3 separate regions of the Homo sapiens genome follow, and regions 1 and 2 are each linked to region 3. The links are contacts of gene promoters, found by promoter capture Hi-C in human tissues and cell types (Jung and others, 2019). All regions are on one chromosome and are shown on one strand. Each heading gives the region's core, a stretch centred on a gene start or on the middle of the fragment in contact. The rest is flanking DNA. Distances are from core to core; before and after follow the strand shown.

Region 1 (3,390 bases), core at 680-3,179, 49 kb after region 3:
ATAAACCCTAACTGTGTTAAGGATACATCTTTTCTTCTTTAAATAGAGTGTTTAGTTTATGTAGTGGTTAGGGATTGGAAAGGCACACACATCACTGTCCTCCTTGGAATTTTGGCTAGAGGGATTAGATGGGCTGAGGTGTTCCCTGTAGTTGTTCTTCTGACAGGTTCTTTGTTCCTCACAAGGTGACAGCATTTCTGGAGGTCTCAGCACATCAGGGTGCAGTACTTATGCTGGACCAAAATCACTATTAAATATGAGCAAAGGAGCTGGGCACGGTGGCTCATGCCTGTAATCCCAGCACTTTGGGAGGTCAAGGCATGAGGATCGCTTGAGGCCGGGAGTTTGAGACCGGGCTGGGCAACATAGTGAGACCCTGTCTCTACGGAAAAAAAAAAAAGCCAGGTGTGGTGGCATGCCTATAGAGCCAGTTACTAGGGAGGCTGAGGCAGGAGGATCACTTGAGCCCAGGAGGTCAAGGTTACAGTGAGCCACGATCGTGACACTGCACTCCAGCTAGGTGACAGAGTGAGACTCTGTCTCTGGAAAGATAAATGAATGAATGAATGAATGAATAAATAAATAAGTAATTGCAAAAAGATTCTGGACAGATGCATCTGAGGCCAATTTGCATTCAGACAAATGGAAGCATAAGTTTATATTTTGTCTGCACCATTACATCTTTTCTGGGTGGTTTCCTTCAATGCACAGAAGAAGGAGCTACTACAATGAAAGGGGCAGCGTGATGCTGAGAGTCTAATCGGGGAGAAAGACATTTTAATCTTTATGAGTAACATTGTCTAGGCCCACTTTTTAGAAAGCAGTTTTTAAGATGTAGTTTCAAGAATCCCAACCTATTTGTCATTAGATAAAACAATCCTGAAAAATGCTGGGTAGATGGCTTGAGAGCCAGCCCTCTTTTCTCTAATTATCACTGACTACCTTCTCCCCATTTTCCCTCCCAGTTAGGACAGGCAGGGCTGGAAAGCTTCTGTGAATAAATGGCTCTGTGATGTCAACCCAAGCAGGGCTCTGAGTGCCAGACCTCATTTGGTAGTAACTTTCATTTGGTAGTATCAGAGCCTCAGAGATGTAGCTCTGATATTCCTTTTCCTTCCCGGGCAAATCTCGTCACTGCCAGCCAAGAGTATCCACTGGTACCAGTGGGGGAAGGGCCTCTCTAGGTGACCTGCTCACCTGGGATGGGAGGGAGCTGGAGGAAATTTCTGCAAAGACATGAAAATGAGCACAGGACCTGATAAAGAGTTTGGATATTATGCTGGAAATGATGGCCACTCCCACATCTTCTTAAAGCTGGAACGCTACTCTTTTCAACAAGACTCTTTTTTTTTTTTTTGAGATGGAGTTTCACTTTTGTTGCCCAGGCTGGAGTGGAATGGTGCAATCTCAGCTCACCGCAACCTCTGCCTCCCAGGTTCAAGTGATTCTCCTGCCTCAGCCTCCCAAGTAGCTGGGATTACAGGCGCCCGCCACCACACCCAGCTAATTTTGTATTTTTAGTAGAGACAGGGTTTCTCCATGTTGGTCAGGCTGGTCTCGAACTCTTGACCTCAGGAGATCTGCCCAACATGACTGCAAGTAGTAAAGTCCTCCTTCTGGCTGGGATTTCTGGATGAGCATATGAGGCAGCTACACAGCGCTGCTTCATTTTGACAAGGTGTTTTCAGTCACCTTGCAGACAGACTTTGGATAGTTTTCCCTCTCTTTCTTTCCATTTGGTTGAGGGCAAATAGCACTTTTCTAATGTTAGCACCACAGCGGACTGTGCTGAGCATTGGCGGCTTAAAGTCCTGGATCTGACATATTATTATACTTAACCTCTCAGCAGCTCAGTTTCCCATAAGTAGAGAAAGATGACAATAATAATACCTTCCTCATAAAGTATAGTACTAAGAATAATGGGCCATCTAAAAATGTCCACATCTGAATCCCCAGAACCTGTGAATATGTTATTATCCATGGCAAAAGGGACACTGCAGAGGTGATTACATTAAGGATCTTGAGATGGGGGGATTATACTGGATTATCCAGGTGGGCTCAAGGTAATCACAAGGATCCTTATCAAAGGCAGGTAGGGGCTACATGGTGGCTCATGCCTGTCATCCCAGTACTTTGGGAGGCCAAGGGAGGAGGATCACTTGAGGCCAGGAGTTTGAGACAAACCTGGGCAACACAGCAAGACCACATCTCTACAAAAAATTTAAAAAATTAGCCAGACATGGTGGCACATGCCTGTAGTCCTAACTACTCAGGAGGCTGAGGTGGGAGGATTCCTTGAGCCCAGGTGTAGGAGGCTGCAGTGAGCTATGATTGTGCCACTGCACTGCAGCCTGGGTGACAGAGTGTGACCTTGTCTCAAAAAAAAGGAAGGTAGAAAGGTCAGAAAGAGATTGGAAGATGCTACATGTCTGGCTTTGTAGCCACAAAGTCTATCTAAATAGACTAAATAGATAGACTTTGTCCTACAAAGTCAGATGTCTAGCCCCTACCTAAATAGACTTTGTAGGCAGAATCTACTTAGATAGGAAGAGGGAAACTAGAGAAAAATAAACAGAAAATGTCCTATCCTGTTCTCAGCCCTGTATGATTTTTTAAAACAGGAGTACAGCTTGTCTCACACATAGCATAAACCTTAGAACTCTGTGTATTAAGATGGCCTTGCTGTGTAATGTTTTCAACAGATACTCTTTTGCAGATGGTTTCAAAGACTGGCACAGCCATGATGGCTATTAGATGAATTAATTTAAAGATACCCATGACCAAGTTTTGGGGCTTGGGGGCCTTATTTGAAAATTTCATTAAAATTCTTAATTGCTTACAGTTATATTTCATCTTAAGTCAGTGTAATTTGGTTTAGATGTGCAACTGGCGTTTTTTCCATGGGTGTCTTTGATACATCTCCAGGAACTTTGCTTTCAGAGAACTATCCACACTTGGACTCATATAATAATGCATTCTCCTTTCCTTTTCTCTGTCTCTTTTTTTTAAGATGGGGTCTCACTATGTTGCCCAGGCAGGATTCAAACTCCTGGGCTCACAGGATCCTCCCGTCTCAACCTCCCAAGTATCTGGGATTACAGGCATGAGCTACGGCACCTGACTCCTTTCCTTTTCTCTTAATAGCATGTTCTTTATAATTTCCATTGAATTTAATTAATTTTTATTGCTTTCCTAATTCTCCTATAAAAATTTTATCTTCCTGCTAATCCCTTTTCCCTGTTTTTCAGTGTTTATCACAATGTGTAAAAATGGAACTATTTATATGTTTATTTCTCTAAGGCTTGTTTCCTTTTCTAGCTTGTAAACTCCAGGACAGTAGGGATAACGTCTGTTCAACACTCTATACCCACAGCCTAGCACACAGTGGTC
Region 2 (3,376 bases), core at 129-2,628, 43 kb before region 3:
GGAGTTTGAGCGCTGCAGTGAGCCATGAGCATGCCACTGCACCCACTCCCAGTCTAGGCAACAGACTGAGACCCTGTCTCAAAATAAACAAACAAATAAATAAAATAAGTAATATCTGAAATTCAATCATACTAAATGAAAATGACAGATAATAACAAAGTGTACGCCAGGGATATTTGCACAATAGACTCATTTTGTCTTTAGCAAATATTTATGAAGTGTCTATTATGTACCAGGAACTTTTCTAGTTTTTGAGGACACCACAGGGAATAAGAAAGTTGTGGTCCATTTACCTACGAAGTTCATATTGTTGATGGAGAAACAGATAGAAGATAAATACATTAAAAAAGAAATCCAATAGTGAGAAGTTCTGTGAAAGCACCAAAATAATGTGATGGAGAATGACTGGGTGGTGGGGGCAAGGTTTGGTAGCTGGTTATGGAAAACAGCTCCGAAGAAATAGCATCTGAGCTGAGACCTGCCTGAGATGAAGCCAGCTGATGGGAAAATATAGAGATCTCAGGCTGGGGTAAAAGTAAAGGCAAGCGCCTTGAGGTGGGATCAGGCCTGACATGTTCCAGAAGCAGAAGGCAGCAGAGCCAGGAGGTGGACAGGAAGGTGCTTAGTGATAGGAGATGAGGCTGGAGAGGGAGGCAGGAAGCCGCCGGATTCTTCAGGGCCTTGGAGGCCAAGGTGACATGTTCAGGTTTAATCCAATTGCCTTTGGAGGGTGTTAAGCGAAAGAGTGCTACGATCTGATTTGCACGTTAAAATAATCATTCTGGTTTTCCTGTGGGAACTGGATTATGGAAGGGTGAAGGCAGAATCGGGGAGCCACTTGGAATTGCAGCTTAGTATAAGCAAGAGATGAAGGGTGGCTTAGGCTAAGTGATAGTGGGGATGGGGAGAAATGAATGGGTTTAGGATATAGTTTTGGAGGCAGGATTCAAAGTTTGTGAGAAAGGTGCAATATTGCTCAGGATTTTTATCCTTTACTCCTTATTTCCAGATAAAACGGATATTTCTAGGGCATATAAACTAACTTACATGTTGACTATGTGAGTCAAAACATTGTAAAAGTGGATTTAGCTAGCATTCTATTTCTTGGATTTTGCTATTAAACAACAAATTTAGTATGTCTAGAGTGAGCATTGTTATATCTGGAATCCTGTGGTCATTGTTAAAAACTAAAATGTCTTTTAAGGCATTGGCATATTAAATCATATTCAAAAGTTTGTAATGTTCAAATTCTCTAAAATCAATTTTCTATGTATTGTATATTTTCATCAGAATTTTTGACTAATCAGAATATTCTGTCCACCAACTAAACCAGTTATGTTCACAATAGAAGCAATTTTAGGTTTTGCATACCACTGCTTCTACATGGAGAAGTAAGAGTTAGTTGTGCCATTTTTAGGAAGTGAAAACAAAATGTTAACAATGATGGTCTATGATGGCAGAATTATGTGTGCTTTGTTTCTTCTACATTCCTTTCTTTTTTTCCAAATTCCCGACGTGCATTACTTTTTAAATCGTAGAAGTTTTTTGTGAAGTTTACCTTACTTAGAGAAGCACTACTCTCTGTGTTACCCTGGTTCATAGTGAAAGACTATATAACAGATGGCATAGCTATGGGGCAAATATTAATTTTTTTTTCTTTTTTAAAAATAGATTTACCGGAACATTCCAGGATTTTTACGTACACTTATGGATGCCCTGAGAAAAGACAAAATAATCTTTCCTAATGATGAAAAGTAAGTTAATGATGAAAAGACATGCATTATTACTGTATCTAAAGGATTCTAGGGGCAACTATCATGTGACTTACTGGATGGTGACATGAGACATCCTGAATATCATTCTTATTCTTAGAATATTGTTCTGCGCTTCTTAGATGGGCACTAAGATTTGGGTAAAGTATCTATGAATTTTTAGTATTTGCTATTTTCCTCATGTCTAATTCAATGACTTCACCAATTCAGTACTCTCTCTGAATTCATAAACGAAGTTGTATATCTATAGCCTATCAAGACCTTTTAAAGGGCTTGGTAGTGTTAGCGTATGCCTATAATCCTAGCACTTTGGGAGGCTGAAGTGAGAGGATAGCTTGAGCCCAGAAGTTTGAAACCAGCCCGGGCAACACAGGGAGACACCATCTCTACCAAAAAATTTTAAAATTAGCCAGGCGTGGGGGCACGTGCCTGTCATCCCAACTACACGTGAGGCTGAAGTAGGAGGATCACTTGAGCCTGGGAGGTTGAGGTTGCAGTCAACTGTGATTGTGCCACTGCACTCCAGCCTGTGTGACAGAGTGACATCCTGTAAAACAAACAAACAAACAAAAAACCAGCCTAACATTTCTTGAGGCATCTCTGACTTCTAGGCCCTTTTCCCCATATAATGAAAACTCGTCTACCATCCACCTTACTAATGTGACAGCAAATCCAATGACTAGAATTTATCAAGTTAGCCTGTTACAGTTAGAGAATTTAAGAATGCTTCCAAATAGACAGTTGTCAATATATTTTTCTATGTCAACACACTTGAGAAAATCCAACATTCTCAGGGGTGTCAGTGAGTCACTGTGGCAGAGATGGATGGGTATCAGAATTTTGGGGGGACAGGGAAGCATTGCTTGAGAAAGTAACTAGAGTGGGAGACAAGACATTCTTCATGCCATAGCCCTTTTGAATTAGCAAACTAGGGGGTTGACCAGGAAGCTAATCAGACCTGTTAACTGCACGTCCATCCTCTACATTTATGGAGAAAAGTAAACAAATTGCTACAAAGAGGTCTCTGATTCTGTCATAGTTTTTGTTTTATTGAGGTTTTGAGTTTTGTTTTCTTTTTTAGTCTTTTAATAAAATATTTCAGATGTTACAAAATAGGTGGAGTAAAGAAGAATATAAGGTTCTTCTAACACTGTACAAAATCAGTGTTTCAGTGTTTTTTGTTTTTTTTTTTTAGTATTTCCAAAAATCATGCAGAAGTAAATTAATTAAACAGCCAGTTAAATTGCATGAGTAAATGGGAGAGAGGGAAACTTGCATGGAGAAAAAAAGCTACTATGTGAAATTTTTAAATGTATGATATTGTTATTCCTTGGAAGGAAGGAAAGAAATTTCTTGTAATTTAGACAGGCCTCATGTTTTGCTAAAGCTTTAACTTAGAAGAGGAGAAATCTCAATGTATCATTCTTTAACTGAATGCTTTTCTTCTACTTGTCCCTAGTGTTAAATTCCTTTCTTCTCCTCTTCTCATCTTACATGGAGAGGATGACAGGACAGTGCCTTTGGAGTATGGGAAAAAGGTAAACTAAGGGCTCAATGCTGACTGAAATATACTATACTCATTTCACCATTTTTTTCATTCAGCC
Region 3 (3,484 bases), core at 315-2,814:
ATACATTTTAGCAGTTGCTACCTTGGTGGAGGCCTAGGTCTTTGGGGTGAAGAAGAGTTACTTTCCATTTGAAAACTGTTACAGTTGCAATTTCTTACTATGAGAATTTACATTCATTTCCTTTCTTAAAAATTCCTATGGGGTTTCTTGGGCACTGGGATTATAGACCATTTTTTTTTCTTCACACCTTTACATAATTAAAAAGTTCTAATAAATGTTTATATATATTTCCCACTGCCCCTGGGATGTATCCCAATCTTTTATTCTTTCCAATATGTCTCTACCTGGCTTCTCCAGTTTCCTCTCCCAATACAGACTCACACCCGCCCTCACTCCAGCCTGCACACAATCCCTCTCCCTGCCATGTCCTCCCCAGTCCTTCCCCACTGCCTCTCGCCCTCTTCGCAAACTGTCAGGCAGAGATATTGTCCCTCTGTAGGTCCAAAATCACCCTAAGGAGGTCTCTGCTCCCGCCCCCACGCCGTGGATGGAGGTGGTCCCTGACCAGCCTTCCTCAGCAGCTCTGGGGGCAGGCCTCGGGTGTGGAAGGGCTAAGGGTCGGGGGAGTGTGTGTCTTCGGGGAGGACGAGTCCAGGGCATTGCCTGGCCCTGGGCCGCCTTTGCGAAAGACTCACGGAATTCCAGGAGCTACACCCACTCAGGAGAATGGGTGGGCGGCGCTCTACGCTTGGAGCGGGACCCTGCCCCTCCTCTGCACCACACTTAGCCACTCCCAGAGGCCTGAGACTTACGACCTTTTCCCAGCTCGGCGTTTGTCTCCCCTCCCAAAATACCAAGCTCCAGCAAGGCAAGATTTTTGTCCCTTTTGTTTAGGGCTGAGTGTCCAGGGCAGAGAATAGTGTCCGGCATACAGGACAAGAGGCCCCCGTCACCTCTTGATTAAATGCTGAGAGTCAAAGTTCCAAAAAAGTTTGTGAAGTGGACAGGCGAGAGGGGCCTGGGCTTTTGCCCACCTGGCGGTTTCCAGGGGCGGACGGCACAGTGGTTTGGGCGGGACACTGGCGGGTGGCACCTCGGAGACATGAGTTCGGCGTCTGTTGGGAGGCCTAATCTGTCCCCCAGGCTGCCCGCCCACAGCCTAGACACGTCTCCTCTGGACTTCGGGGCAAGGACCGGGTGCAAGGGACCACTCTGAGGGGTTCTCCACCTCGTCCCGCCCGGCCGCGGCCGGAGACTCCGACTCCGGGCTGGACCCCGGCCCGCCGTCCCGCCCCCGGTTACCTTGGGGCACTTGTCGTAGTAGTGCTGCTGCGTGCGGATCCAGCGCCCCACCAGGTGGTCGCGCACCGTGTGCGCCAGCGCGAAGTAGTAGTCGCGGGTGGTGGCCACGTTGCGGTCCTTGACCAGCGTGAAGTGCAGGTGCCGGTTGAAACTCTTCTTCAGCTCTGCCACGTTCTCCACGCCCACGATGCCGCGGATGCTGATCTGCCGCCGCTTCTCCTGGTCCGTCAGGGGCTTCGCCATGGCTGGGGCGGCGGGCTGCGCGGCGGGCTGCGCAGAGAGCTGGAAGTGCGGCCGGAGGCGCTGGGCTGCCGGGCAGGGGTGGAGTCCGCCCCGCCGCGCCAGCAGCTTTCAACGCGCACGAAAGTTTGGGGCCCGCCCCCTCGGGCGGTGCCGTCCCCGCTGCACTCCCACCGCGTCCCGGCCCCTGCCCCAGGCCGGAGGGCAGAGGAAGTGCCCGGCCCCTCCCGAGGCTCTGGGGCCGCAGTGGGCTCGGGGGTGGGAGACGAGGTCCAAGCGCCGGCGAGACCCCTGCCAGCCCGGGACCTGGGCTCGGAGGCTCCCTTCCGGATTTCCAAAATCTGCGGAGGCAGCATTTGTTCCGCCTCTCCCCTCTAGAGTGTGGAGACAGGAGGACGTCTGTGTAGGGAAGCACGTCGTTGGCAGACTGCTGTTTTGCCGATGTTTATTTGTTATGCCATTATGACTGTTAGGATTTCTCACCTGGAGTGGCTTCCGCCATAAGCGCCGGGATCTGGAAGGACGGCACGTTTGACTTCTGTTGTCCCAACCTCACTTGCCAGCCCTTGGCACCGCCCCAGCTTGGATCCTCAGGGCGCCTCTGTTATTTTCATTCATTTTTTTTGAGGACTCCAGGGTTCAGGTTTCTTAACTCCTGGACCAAAGTTCGCCCCGCTCGTAGCACCCTGTCTCTCATCCTTAGAGGTAGGTTACTAAGAATCAGAGTAGGTGAGGTGAAGCTCTAGGGTCATTATGCGGCAGGGGCTTTTACCTTAGGCTTCTTCGAATTACGTTTTAACTGCAGTGGAGGGTGTGGGGGGAGGAGAGGGAGAAAACAGAAGGGTATGTGTGTGGAAAATGAAGGGATTACTCACTGGACTAGTTGCCTTCTTTACAAAAAACAACCCAGTCTGTGTTACTGTGCGGTACAGGCTGATCTTTGCACCTCCACTTTGGGTGGTATTTGAATATGCGTGTTTATGTGTGCTTAAACCTTGGTAAAGGCAAACACTTGGCATTTTAGGATGTCAGAGGTTTTTTCTTCCTCATTAAGTAGTATTAATATATTATTTTAGAAACAGTCCATTGCCAGAATTAAGTTTTCTTTTTCCTTTTTCTTTTCTTTTTCTTTCTTCTTCTTCTTTTTTTTTTTTTTTTGAGACGGAGTCTCACTCTGTTGCCCAGGCTGGAGTGCAGTGGCGCGATCTCGGCTCACTGCAAGCTCCGCCTCCCGGGTTCACGCCATTCTCCTGCTTCAGCCTCCTGAATAGCTGGGACTACAGGCGCCCGCCACCTCGCATTTTTTATTTTTTATTTTTTTATTTTTAGTAGAGACAGGGTTTCACCATGTTAGCCAGGATGGTCTCTATCTCCTGACCTCGTGATCTGCCCGCCTCGGCCTCCCAAAGGGCTGGGATTACAGGCGTGAGCCACCGCGCCCGGCCAATAGTCACATATATTCTTCTAAGTTTATTTGTTTGTTGTTTTTTGAGACAGGGTCTCACTCTGTTACCCAGGCAGAGTGCAGTGGCGCGATCTGGGCTCACTGCAAGCTCCGCCTCCCGGGTTCACGCCATTCTCCCGCCTCAGCCTCCCGAGTAGCTGGGACTACAGGCGCCCGCCACCACGCCCGGCTAATTTTTTGTATTTTTAGTACAGATGGGGTTTCACCGTGTTAGCCAGGATGGTCTCGATCTCCTGACCTTGTGATCCGCCCTCCTCGGTCTCCCAAAGTGCTGGGATTACAGGCGTGAGCCACCGCGCCCGGCCAAGTTTTCTAGAAAAATCTTAGTATACTTATATTAATATATTTTGTTTTTTATAATAAACCCAAGTTGATTATTTTGAATTCACACATGGTGGTGGTGGGGGGGGGGGGGGGGGCGGGTAATGGATTAATTGATTCAGACCAAATGTGACCCTCACCATAAAAGTGAAAGTTCAAAGCTCATAGTTCTGACAAAATTTCCTGAATCCTTGTCCTCCCAGATTCTGAAGTTTG

What was found. Contacts are between HindIII fragments. The study calls those that stand out against the background at their distance.
Region 1: a fragment that was not itself captured here is called in contact with the fragment with the promoter of PYGL in region 3 in 2 of the 25 tissues and cell types used here (pancreas and psoas muscle).
Region 2: a contact is called between a fragment that was not itself captured here and the fragment with the promoter of PYGL in region 3, in 1 of the 25 tissues and cell types used here (aorta).

What each region holds. Positions count from the first base shown.
Region 1 is chr14:50,992,029-50,995,418 of GRCh38, forward strand. The region is part of intron 7 of TRIM9 (tripartite motif containing 9); the gene reads right to left. Among named protein-coding and RNA genes, the nearest start is that of PYGL, 49 kb to the left of the region's middle. The HindIII fragment of the contact is 8,014 bases long and covers 1-3,390 here.
Region 2 is chr14:50,900,158-50,903,533 of GRCh38, forward strand. It overlaps ABHD12B (abhydrolase domain containing 12B), which reads left to right. Exons shown (of 13, transcript NM_001206673.2): 10 at 1,672-1,754; 11 at 3,232-3,310. Among named protein-coding and RNA genes, the nearest start is that of ABHD12B, 30 kb to the left of the region's middle. The HindIII fragment of the contact is 6,626 bases long and covers 1-3,376 here.
Region 3 is chr14:50,942,919-50,946,402 of GRCh38, forward strand. It overlaps PYGL (glycogen phosphorylase L), which reads right to left and starts at 1,565. Exons shown (of 20, transcript NM_002863.5): 1 at 1,243-1,565. The coding sequence starts at 1,485. LOC400212 (a long non-coding RNA gene) reads right to left here. Exons shown (of 4, transcript NR_170195.1): 4 at 3,372-3,484. RefSeq lists an enhancer at 393-916 and a silencer at 1,585-1,744. The HindIII fragment of the contact is 9,372 bases long and covers 1-3,484 here.